2 separate regions of the Homo sapiens genome follow, and region 2 is linked to region 1. Evidence: promoter capture Hi-C in human tissues and cell types (Jung and others, 2019). All regions are on one chromosome and are shown on one strand. Each heading gives the region's core, a stretch centred on a gene start or on the middle of the fragment in contact. The rest is flanking DNA. Distances are from core to core; before and after follow the strand shown.

Region 1 (6,060 bases), core at 1,995-4,494:
CCAATCTGGAGAGAACTGTTCTGATCTCTACCCCATATTTGGCTGAATTTCATATTAACAGTCATACAGTGTAAACCCTTTTGTATCTGACATCTTTTATGATGTTCTTGACGTTCAACCGTCTATAACAGTTCATTCTTTTTTATTGCTGAGTAATATTCCCTTGTATTTTGCAGTTGGGGTTTATCCATTTTCCCACTGATTATACACTAAATTTTAATTACAACATAGCTAAATTCTCAATTATTTCCCTTTATGACTGTTGACAATATTCTTTATATTCCACAACCCTATAGAGATGTCCAGAGTTTTTCCTTAGTACTTTTTTTAAAACTGAAGTCTTTACTCCATTTGATGAGTAAAGATTTCAACTTTAATATCTTCTCTTCAAATGATTAGCAGGTACCCTACCATATTGCTTTCTCACTGATTTGAAAAGCCACTTTCATTATACTTTAAATCCCTACAGGGGTGGTATTAAAACTAGTCAATAGTTGGTGAGGCACAGGCACTGACCAGCCTGCAAAGCTGCCCATTAAGAACAGCTGGAGCACACTGATCATACACATATCGGCTGGGTATCAGCCTGGAGTCAGTACATTTGCTTGGGGCCATTCCTTTACTTTCTATTATTTTGCATTGATCTGGGCCAATATCACGTTGTTTTCATTTCGGAGCCCAGATAACATGTTTTTATTTTCTGGAAGCACAGTTTCTCCTTCATTACTCTTCTTTTTGACTGCTCTCAAATCTTTATTCTTCCAGATGAACTATTTAACGATTTTCACAATTCCCAGGAAGTTCTGTTGGAACTTACTGTTACATTTAGGTACTTAAAATGTTTTTGCTAATTGAGAATGTTTCATATTTTCTAACACATATGTAAGTGCTTAGCACAAAGCTCACCACATACTGAATATGCAACAATTATTTAATTACCGATTGAATGTTGTCAGTTATCTGAAAGTTACTGTTATTTGTATATTTTATAATTGGCCAGCTTGCCGATCGTAGCCAGTCTAGGAGTTCTACCAATTTATTGGATCCACCAACCCTAGATTTTAAAATTTGAGTCTTTGATGCTGGTTTCTTTCAACTGTGAGAACACGGAGATTCCTTTGAGTGTGATTCATTTGACTCTGTCAAATACCTGTATGTGAAGTCCCAAGCGCGAATGCTCCCAGGCATTGGGGTTGTCACCCCACCTTTCTCCTTATACACAGCTCACAGGATAGCGTGTTTGCTTTCACTGCACACTATCGTACTGAATTGCTCTGCACTGGCTGTGCACCGGTCTCCTTCAGACAGCCCCTCTGACACATAATGGCAGACACAGCCACCCAGGCCAAGTTTCTCTTTTCCAGACATGGCGAGTGAGGTTCTTGCACCATCCACCCAACGTCTGCGTGGTGCCTCACTCTGCTGGAGTGCCTCTCAGGACTCCTGTGAGGACTAAATGGCACGCAGCAATGGGGCTACCCATTCCTTCTAATGGAAATCTACTTTTTAAAAATTACCTCTGCAAGCATTAGATCCCAGAGCTCGTTTCACGTGACTTTTTGCGCAGGCACTTCTCTTTGTACGTGAAAAACTAACTTTGGTAGACTTACAGGCAGGTTTTAATATTTTCTCGTGATTGTATGTTTTTGAGAATCCTGTCAAATGATACTGAATCTTATCTAGATGTTAGCTAGCTACAGACCCTGTTTCATTCTACATGAAAATTAGATAGTGCACCGTTTCCATCAGCAGCCAAGTCTCCAAAACCCCGTAATTGCTCTCCTTTTCTTCAGCTGTATCTTGTTTTAAAGTTCTCTAATTCACCATTCCTTTCCTTCTAAGTTTAGCCTAAGCATTTCTTGCAATGACCAAAGTTTTCTAATTATTAATGAGATATTTAAGGAAATGTAAAATTGGCATTTTTATTTTGCTAACTGTATTTTTATCCACATAACTAGTTTCCCCCACCAAGAATCACAGGTCGAGAATGCTGTAAAAACGGATCCTTTCTCAGCTCCTAAAAGGAATGGCCTACAATCGAAGCGAACGCGCATCTCCGCCAGGTCCGCAACCACAGGCCCACGCCGTCGGGCCCCACGAACCGGCGCGCGCTGTCAAAGGCGCTTCCTCCCTGGAACGCGGGATTCCGGGGACAGTGTGTGCACTCAAGTTGAAAAGTTGTCATACTCCTGTTGGAAAGAAACGGAAACATCACCACCAGGAGGGTGGCCACTGAAGACCCTCGCCGACACCTGCTGGCAACCAAAGGCGCTTCCGGGGATCTACGGGCCGACCTGTAACTCAACACAAGCCTCCCAAGCCCTGCGGCCTTAAAACAACGCCCACCCGGGCGGTGCGCCGTTCCCGCCACCTCCACGCCTGCCTGGACCCGGACTCGAGACCCTGGCGGCGGGCCGGGCTCCCTCCGCCTGAGCAGGGACGCGGCGAGCGCATCCCACGACCCTCGGCAGCCGTTGCAGGCCTGGCGGACCTACACCCCACACCCTCACGGCCGCGTTCCCGCCGCGGGGCAGGGCGAGGCCCACGGCGCCTGCGCACTCAGTGACCGGGCCGCCCTGCGCCTCCGTGCGCACGCAGCACCACGTGACCCACTGCCAGTATCCAAGATGGACGCCGCGGCGAGGCCTGGCCGGCTCCCCGCGTTAGCCTGCACCCCATTGTGTGCCCTCTAAGCGCGAATTAGGCTCGCAGACATGCGGTGCTGACCGCTAGGCAGCCATGCGGGCTACCGAGTGCGACCGGACACGGCCGGGGCCCGTGTTTACGGCCACTACTGGCCCCCGGTCCCTGCGCCTCCTCAACCGCGAAGCACCCAGCGGCTGGCGCCTGGAGCGTCTTTTGGTACGCCCCACCCTCTAGAATTGGCAGCTCCAGCAGCCAATGAGGTCCAGGACGCGTGCGGGGAGGCGGGCAGGGGTGGAGCCTCTCTGCCGCTCATAGGGCATCCGGCCCCGCGGTTGAGCAGCCGCTGGGCGAGGGGTGGGAGCAGACGGGCTGTGCGCAGGTTTCAGCGGGCCAATGGAAGGCCGGCCAGGCGCCCGGGGCGGGCGGGCGGGAGGCGGGGCCGAGCCGTAATTGACGAGCTCTTCATTAGAAACCAGGCGGGAGGGCGGGGCCCGCAAGGGGAGGTGACGCAAGGCTGCCGCAGCCAATGGTTGGCGAGCCGCCGGCTGGCTGGGCGGGGCCGGGCCGGCTGACGGGCGTGCGGGGTGGCCTATCGCCGCCTGGCTCGACGCTGGAGTGGGGAGAAGCATCATGGTTCAACGTGGGTCAATTTTTTGTGAATGAGGAGGGGAGGTTGTGGGGCCGCCGCCGCGGAGCACCGTCCCCGCCGCCGCCCGAGCCCGAGCCCGAGCCCGCGCACCCGCCCGCGCCGCCGCCGCCGCCGCCCGAACAGCCTCCCAGCCTGGGCCCCCGGCGGCGCCGTGGCCGCGTCCCGGCTGTCGCCGCCCGAGCCCGAGCCCGCGCGCCGGCGGGTGGCGGCGCAGGCTGAGGAGATGCGGCGCGGAGCGCCGGAGCAGGGCTAGAGCCGGCCGCCGCCGCCCGCCGCGGTAAGCGCAGCCCCGGCCCGGCGCCCGCGGGCCATTGTCCGCCGCCCGCCCCGCGCCCCGCGCAGCCTGCAGGCCTTGGAGCCCGCGGCAGGTGGACGCCGCCGGTCCACACCCGCCCCGCGCGCGGCCGTGGGAGGCGGGGGCCAGCGCTGGCCGCGCGCCGTGGGACCCGCCGGTCCCCAGGGCCGCCCGGCCCCTTCTGGACCTTTCCACCCGCGCCGCGAGGCGGCTTCGCCCGCCGGGGCGGGGGCGCGGGGGTGGGCACGGCAGGCAGCGGCGCCGTCTCCCGGTGCGGGGCCCGCGCCCCCCGAGCAGGTGGGCTCCGGGCCGCCGGGAGTGAGGGCGGGGGCGGGCGGGCGCCGGGGCCGGCCGGGCGCCGTTTATGTAACTTTGTCAAATGCTGTGAGTTTGCAGAAAAACGTCCCTGCCGGGGGTCCGCGGCCCCGCGCTTGTCGTCGCCGCTGCGAGCGCCCGGGGGGTCGCGGGAGGGCGGGGGGCTGCCCGGGACCCGCTCGGCTCAGCCCGCAGGGCGCCAGCAGGCCGAGACGGGGCCCGGTCCCGCTCGGGGGTGGGATCCGCGTTTGCCGGCGTTGCGAAAACACACCACGGAATCATAAGCAAATTATCTCGTATTTACATTGAGCGTTGAATTATTTGACACTGTTATAGGAGGAGACCGTGCGTATCAGTTGGAAAGGCCGGGGGTGGAACCCAGTGTACTCATTTAATGCACATCAAAAATTTGTAATAACTTGAGGCAGCTGATATGAGTGTTTTCTTTATTGCATGTTGTAAATTGACCTGCTGTGACACAGTTTTCAAATAAAGCGTTGCAGAAATTAAACTTAAGTTATTTTAAAACTAATGACTTTCTTCACTAAATCCTAATTGCATGACTGTAGAGACCTACCTAATTGCTTGCTGAGAGCAGTTCTGCTTGCTCTCCGTGAGGGAGGAAAGGGCCTGTGCAGTCACTTTGCCGCCCCGTTTTTCTCTGTTCAGGCTTTTCTGTTTATTCCCACAAATCACCGAAGCAGTTAAGGCCTGGGAGTAAGCCTGTAAACAGTCCTGGCCCAGCGCCAGCCCAGCAGGACTGGGGGGATACTGGCAGGTTTGCACCTTGACCTGGTTTCACTTTTTCTTTTGTAATATGATCGTGGTTGCCTGGAGTTTTAATTGCTTCTGATAATTCTGTGCATTATTTTCGGGACTGTCCAAAGAAGGCTGGTGTGGTGGTTTCAGGACCTAGCCAGGAAAGGTGGTGGTGGTGGCTGGGGAGAGGGAGGGTGGAAGGGAGGGAGATCGAATTAAGAAAACTCAGCTGCTTGTACACAAATATACACTACAGCAGTTACAAAGCAACAAAAGTTATTGCAGAATTTTGCAGTAACTATGGCAACACAATTACTCTATTATAATTGGAAATGCAAAATGCCACCGAGTTAGAAGTTTCATCAGAATGGAGTTTTGGATATCAAAAATATGTGAAATTTAATTTTTTTTCAGGTAGCTCTTGTGAATTCTAAAATCTGTGTTCAATTACCTATTTTTAAGACTGATCGGGCTTTCCCAGATATTCTACTCTCTGGGATCTGTGGCATCTTTCCCCAGAAGAACTCACATTTGTGTGGGAGGGAAGTATTTTCATGCCTTAAAAACACACACCCCAACACATTGTAAGACTTCTATAGCTTTCTGTGTTCTGGGCTTTTATTTTAGAGATCAAATCCCATCCTAAAGAGAGCAGTAATCAATTAGAAAAGAAGCCGGCTGTACTCAGCAGGCAGATGTAACGCTGCCCTCTTTAGGGTTCTTTCTCCTGCAAGGGGAGCTGGCAGCAGGCATGCCCCCGGGGGAGCCCTGGGCTAAGGGGACGGGGTGGAGGGAAGATGACTGGACTGCATATGGGCCTGGAAGGCCTAGGGACGAAGGACAGATGTGGCCTCGGAGCCCTGCACCAGAGAGAATGTTCTGTGTTCAGCAGCTTCCTAGCCATGCAAAATAAAAATCCCCAAATGCCATATTCTCGGAGGCCTTGGGGGCTGTTGCTGTAGCAAGATGGACAGGACAACCTGGCACGCTGGCCACGTGCGGCTCAGGCAGCCCATCTGGACTCTGTGGCCAGAGACCTCGTTGAGAAGAATGCCCTATGGATGTTTACCAGGAGGACTCTAGTGCTGGAAGTTTCCACACATTGTGGGGTTGCTGCAGTTTAATTTTGTTATAACTCTTTCCTTTTAACTACTGCATATTTATGCCCAGTAATCGACTTCCATTCTCCAGCTTCATTGTGAGGTTTCAATGCAGCATGAATGGCTTTGAATTCCAATCCTTTAATGTTGGGGGTGGCACCAAAGGAAAGGCGACTTTATGCTGTCTTAATTGCCGGAGCAGAAGAAACATTTCATCACTCCTGTAGAATTCATCCATACCATTCTCTATTGAAAACGGCTGGGCTTTCATAGCTCAGAAGCTGCCATGAGTAATA
Region 2 (6,060 bases), core at 795-3,294, 970 kb after region 1:
AATTACTCCACAGTTGCGGTTACTACAGAGTGAAAAAGTTCAAAGTCGGAGTGGGAAAGATTCAGGTGTAGGGCAATAACCAACAGGTAAATGGCGGCCACAGGACTTTTGCTGAGCCCTCTTCTGGGCCCCCTCTGCTGGCCTCTGTGCTATCCATTCCTGGCCCTGCTCAAAGTAGACTCAGAATCTTTCCCCAGCTCCAGATTCAAAAGCAACTTCAAGTTTGTGTTTCGCTGATCAACTACTCCAATGACAACACAACTGCCCCAGGATAGCACTTAAGCTTCAACTGAAAATCTGTTGCCCCTCTACCCGAGGCCGAAACACACTGAATAACAAAACAGCAGTGCATGAGGATATAAAAAGGAGCCCTCAGCTGAGTGTGGTGGCTGCCGCCTGTAATCCCAGCACTTTGGGAGGCAGAGGCGGGCAGATCACCTGAGGTCTAGAGTTCGCTATCAGCCTGGCCAATATGCCAATATGGTGAAGCCCCGTCTCTACTAAAATACAAAAATTAGCCGGGCATGATGCCAGCACCTGTAATCCCAGCTACTAGGGAGGCTGAGGCCAGAGCATCGCTTGAACCCCCGAGGCGGAGGCTGCAGTGGGCCGAGATCACGCCACTGCACTCCACCCTGGGCAACAAGAGCGAAACTCCGTCTCAAAAAAAAAGGAGACCTGTGCAGCCGACAAAGCCAGTGTTTATTCCCCAGGAACTCTCTTTATACTGGGAAGTAGCTGTTGGTCCTCTTTTTCCCACGGAACACGCATCATTCCGTCTCTCACTCTCACATGAGATGACATCCTAGACCCTAAGGTCCTGGCTGTCTCTGAAGTCAAAGTCAACGCCAACCAAAGCCCAGGATGGTAGATGCTTTGTCTGGCTTTTTCTGGTCACTGCAGTATCCTCTGCTGGGTCTAGCCAACAGCAGGTCTTCAATACAAGTCTGTTAAATGATTGGAAGGAGGTGCAGAGGGAGGGATGGATGGAAAAGCCTATCTGCACCAGTCTCCAAGTCAATCTTTTAAGATGTTTAAGAAATGTATTGGTTTATTACTAAGTAGGAGAGGAACCCCTCCAAAGACAAATATAGGCATGTAAAGAAAGCCCAGAACACACGAAACTATTGGCGCGAATGGCAAGCTCAGAAATCCAGCAAGAAGGAACTCCCACCACACCACCGGGAAACGGGAACCTGTCCTGACCGCTTCCTTCACATCTGCATGGTAGGGACACTGCAAGGTGGAGACCCTAAGTAGGACAGTTATTTTGGAAGGTGGGTGTGAGCCTTTCTATCTGCCTCCCTTGCTGGTGGGCCAAAGGCCCCTGGACATGTTGTGTCACTGACGAGCTCGCTGGAGACGGCGTCCCCGTTGTCCCTGGTCTGTGCCTGTGGTGGGTGGGAAGGCTGCCCCCCGCTGTACCACCGGACACGCCGTGGGCGGCAGAATGGTGAAAAAGTGCCTGCCCTCCCTAGGGCTACCCTCTGGCTGGCTTTCCTGATCCGTGCGCTCAGAGCTGGAAGGTGGCCCACGTCCTACTTTTGCGGTTGGGTCATATCAAATCTGTATCGGCTAACGGGAAGGAAGTTACGAGCAAGTTCCACCGGAAAGAAAATCTAGCGCGGGGACTGCACTCGAGGCCGAGGAGAGGGCAGCGCGTCCGTGGTGGGGTCGCCCAGCACTGCGAGCCGCGCTGAACCCCACCCCCGGCCTGCAGGGTGCGGCTCCCTGGCTGCCCCGTGGACCCGGCCAGCCCGGGACGAGGACGCAGGACCTCGGCAGGGACGCCGGAGCCAGCCCTTCGCCATCCCCACACGCCCCGCGGCCCAGTGGCCGCGCGCACGTTACCTGCGGAGCCCGGCCCTGCCCGCCCGTCTGGGCTGCCGCCCTCCGCCATGGATGCTTCCGCCTCCGCGGCCGCCCCTGACCCGCGCACGCCCCTCGGGCAGGAAGCAGAACGACCCGCGACCACTTCCGGCGCCGAGGGCAATGGGGGGCGCGTCGGGGTCGCGGCTTCCGGCGGGCGCGCGCCGGCCTCACTGGTTTCCGGGGCCGCGCAGGGGCCACGCCTCCGCTTCCGGCCTCGCTGTCTAGCAGGGCGCTGGCTGGTCCCTTCGTCCGGCGGGAACTTCGCGGCTAACCGACTCTCTGGATGCCGGCCGCGCTGTGGTTTCCTCACATAAGAAGCCAAGGAGTCGGAAAGCCCGTTGCCTGAGGCAGCAGTCTGGGAATTTCGGTCCGGCGGGCCGTCCCCACCCACACGGACGGGGCGTGGCTTCTGCCAGATGTGGGCGGGGCCCCGAGGGCCGTGGCGGGCGGGACCCGGGCCTCGGCCGGGCTGGCTTGGTCCCCGCAGGTGCCCCCCGCTAGCCACGAGCAGCCCCGGGAGGGTGGATTCGGAGGCGCGGGGACTGGTGAGGGCCCACTGCAGGGCTGAGCGTCGCAGCGTGCTGTGGTTTTAGATGAATGCTCCTCCAAATCCCTTCCATGAAGCCCTCAATCAGGTCGGTAACTGATGACAGCCAGTGGCTGACGCGAAGTTCATTGAATAAATGAATGCATTCGTGAACAACCGAGTAACATTTCTTGCACACTCCCAACTTCAAATATCGCAGCGTCGTCCCACCATGAGTATTGGTGTTGGTCCTAAAGCACGGATTCCCTTGGCTCCTCCCATTCTCCCCTGCTGAGTTAGACAGCGGGGCCTCATGCAGGAGGAGGATTTGTACACAGCACAGCAGGAGGCTGATGAGGGAGTCCGGAGACCCCAGCAGTCGTGGGCGTGAGCTGCTGGCTCATCCGTGTGTACAACATTCCAGACTGGAGTAAGGGAAGCCGCAGGCGCAGCCCCGCGAGTGCCCCTGCTGAGGCTGGCCCTGGGTGGCCCAGATGCACCAGGGGGCCCACTGGGGGCAGACCTGGCAGGCCCTGTGGGGGTTGGAGGCGGGAGTGGGGGTACTTCCTACAGTGGTGTTTGGTCTTGATGACAGCAGAGAGCACCACTGGCATGAGGGACAGGTGACTCCGATGATGACGCTGCCAGGCCAGGAGCCAGGGGTGTGCCCAGCCCCTGGCTCCACCACAGCTGCACATCCCGAACTCGGAGCTTCAGCAACTCCGAAGCCTGAAGCCGCCTCACGTGTTGTTGGATGGATGAATGGATAAACGAAATGCCGTCCATCCATACAATGGAATCGTACTCAGCCTTAGAAAGGAAATGCTGTCCGTCCATACAATGGATTCGTACTCAGCCTTAGAAAGGAAGGGAATCCTGACACACGTCACAACACGGATGACCTTGAAGACGTTATGCTGAGTGAGATAAGCCAGCCACAAAAAGACAAATACAGTACTGTGTGATTCCAATTATTTGAGGTCCCTGGAGCAGTGAAATGGTGGAGCGGAATGGGGGTTGCCAAGGGCTGGGGGAGTGGGGAATGAGGAGTTAGTTTTTCATGGGGACAGAGCTTCAGTTGAGGAAGATGAAAAAGTTTTGGAGACGGGTCACACAGCAATGTGAATTGTGCATTAACAGTACTGAACTGCGCATTTAAAGCAGGTTAAGTTTTATGTTCTATATATTTTACCACAATTGTTTTAAAGAATTTTTTAAAAGAGGTTCCGGTGCAGTCAGTCAGGGGTGCGGGTTGGGTGTTGGGTGGTTCAGAGCACCCAGGTGATTCTAAAGTGCAGCCTGGTGAGAGCCACGTCTCCGGGGGCCTCCGCTGCTCTGCCTGCCTGGTCCCGGTGGGCTCACAGTGAGCGTTCTGCGTGTCGGTAGCCTTTGCATCAAGGTATTGAGTCCCTGAGCAGAGTGGCCCTCCTGCACCTGCACCTCCACCTTCCCTGCCACGTGTTGCCCTTGGGATCCTGCCTCTTAGAAGAACCTGAGGCCGCACGTGGTCTGTAGCGGGGAGGTGGCCTCACATGCCCACCTCCGTGCCTCCTAAATGCCCACATGGTGCAGGGCAGTGTCCACAGAGCCAGCAGTGCTGGAGGGGGAAGGACACTCAATTGCTGGCCACTCTGCCAATACCATCACCCCCATTTCTCAGGACCCTGAGATCTGGGGGCCTGGTGCTATGCCCAAAACCACATAGCCCACAGGTGGCTGAGTTGGGATCACATCCAGACTGTCCAGCCCTACAGCCTGTCTCCCCCTCTGACCTCACCTCTCCAGAGTCCCTCTTCTTCCAGGTCCTCTGAGCCCAAAAGACCCACCAACACAGGGACACTCAGTGACCGCTAGAGATGAAGCAACTTGGGTCCCATCACCTACAAGCAACAGGGATTTACCAGTGCCTACCAGTGCCATCCCAGCCCAGCACAGCAGCAACAGGACCAGTGCAGTGGGCTGTCTTGCCCCTCCAGGTCCCAGTGGCTCCCTCCCGTTTTCCCACCCCTAAAATCACCCGTCGCTTCCTGTTGCCTCCTGGAGGCTCAGGCCTCCCCCAAAGTGTCCCCAGTGACCCCTCTGTGGAGCCTAGCCCAGTCTTTGTGGTGGAAAATTTGGCAGTCTAGCTAAAGCATAAGAATGAATAATCCTTGATCAGAAATGCCTCTTCCAGGCATTCATTCTAGGGAAATAATCAGATGTGGGGGAGATTCAGCTACAGTAGTGCTCATTACCATCATTTTATAACAAAAATGTCCAACAATGGACTTTCTGGTTCAGGAGGTCTGAGAAGGGGCCCCCATCCCTCATCCTTCCTGTTGCAGGGAACTGGGGGCCCCTCTGGAAGCATGGCAGGTATATGGGGGGCTGGAAACATGAGCTCCACAGCTGCAGGCTGGTGAGGATCCTGCTGGGCCTGGGTGTGCTGGTGCTGCTGTCGCTTAACCCCCACAGCTGTCTCCGGGAATTGGGCAGCAGATGTCACCCAGGCAGGGACCAGAAATGGGAATCTCTCCTGATCCTAGGCCCTGTGGGCCTGTGTTTGGGGTGTCTCCTCCCAGGAGGCCCAGCCCTCTCTTCCCCTTTGAAGGATCTCCTGCTTTGAAGGAAGCAGGGGATCTGAAGGTTTACCAGGTGAGGCCACGAGATGAGGGCAGCCCGCTGACCCTCCAGGCTTTGCCCTGGAAACATCTTTACCAGCCCCTGCCCCGCAGACCCTGTCTCAGGCCTTGGAGCCCACCTGCAGAGAGTCAGGGTGTCTGCCCCAAGCTAGGGAGGCAGATCCACATCCTTCCAGCTGAGTCACCAGGACAGGGTGACTCCTCTGAGCACCAGCTGCCTCCCTGTCAAATCGGGCTGATAATACCCACTTTGCAGGCTTTGTAAAGACACAAAATCCCATAGAATGTGCCACAGGCTTCCTGGGGCAGAGAGAGCCTCAGGACACAGTGGGCATCGGTGCCATGGCTGCTAACGCTATGGCATGGCTTTGCTGAGTGGAGCCACGCCCACCTCCAGCCTCCCACCCCACCCCACCCTGTCCTAAACTGAGCCCACCTTCTCTGCCCAGCTTGGAACAGAGCAGGGCTCAGGGGTAGACGCAGTGTCCCAGCAGGCCCTCAGCTTGGGGCTGGTGGGGCTGGGCAGGGCCCAGGCCGTGATGTTCCTTGCAGCCCTCGAAGCCTCCCTCTTCCAGCCAGGTCGGCCTCTGCCTGGATGTGGTTTAGCCTGGCAGTGGAGGTCCCAGGGAGGACCGGGAAGCCCAGCTGTGGGGACTGCAGAGGACAGTGTGGGCCCTGGGAGTCCTGCCAAGGGGGTGCCCTCTTTCAGCCCCCCTCACAGGTGCTGTGCTGCCTCCCTTGGTGTGACCGAGAACTCCACTAGTGTCAGGAGGCCACAGCGCTCAGTGAGCCCCTGCATCCTCTACCAGGGCCTGCGTCTCTCCAGGCAGCACCTGTGGAAGGCAACTACCATGTGCTGGTCACTGCCACAGCGGGAGGAGTCAGAGGTGAGGAAATCTCAGTCCCAGAGCAGGGACTGGCAGCAGAGACAGGAGGTTTTTAGAGACTCTTCGGCCACAGCGGGACCAACAGCCCAGCTTGCCCAGCACTGAGTGGGCCTCAGAACACAGAGCTGCCAGTTTTCAAAGCAGGGTGAGTGGA

The links. Contacts are between HindIII fragments. The study calls those that stand out against the background at their distance.
Region 2: a contact is called between the fragment with the promoter of ASB1 here and the fragment with the promoter of HDAC4 in region 1, in 1 of the 25 tissues and cell types used here (adrenal gland).

What each region holds. Positions count from the first base shown.
Region 1 is chr2:239,398,204-239,404,263 of GRCh38, reverse strand. HDAC4 (histone deacetylase 4) reads left to right here and starts at 3,244. Exons shown (of 27, transcript NM_001378414.1): 1 at 3,244-3,286. HDAC4-AS1 (HDAC4 antisense RNA 1) reads right to left here and starts at 2,828. Exons shown (of 2, transcript NR_135575.1): 1 at 2,728-2,828; 2 at 1,907-2,189. RefSeq lists an enhancer at 2,036-2,165 and silencers at 2,296-2,565, 2,836-2,955, 2,976-3,415, 3,426-3,595. The HindIII fragment of the contact is 13,359 bases long and covers 1-6,060 here.
Region 2 is chr2:238,422,911-238,428,970 of GRCh38, reverse strand. ASB1 (ankyrin repeat and SOCS box containing 1) reads right to left here and starts at 2,044. Exons shown (of 5, transcript NM_001040445.3): 1 at 1,852-2,044. The coding sequence starts at 1,900. It overlaps LOC124908002 (a long non-coding RNA gene), which reads left to right and starts at 2,077. Exons shown (of 2, transcript XR_007088163.1): 1 at 2,077-6,060. RefSeq lists enhancers at 1,296-1,415, 2,928-3,463 and silencers at 1,666-2,185, 2,206-2,595. The HindIII fragment of the contact is 10,702 bases long and covers 1-6,060 here.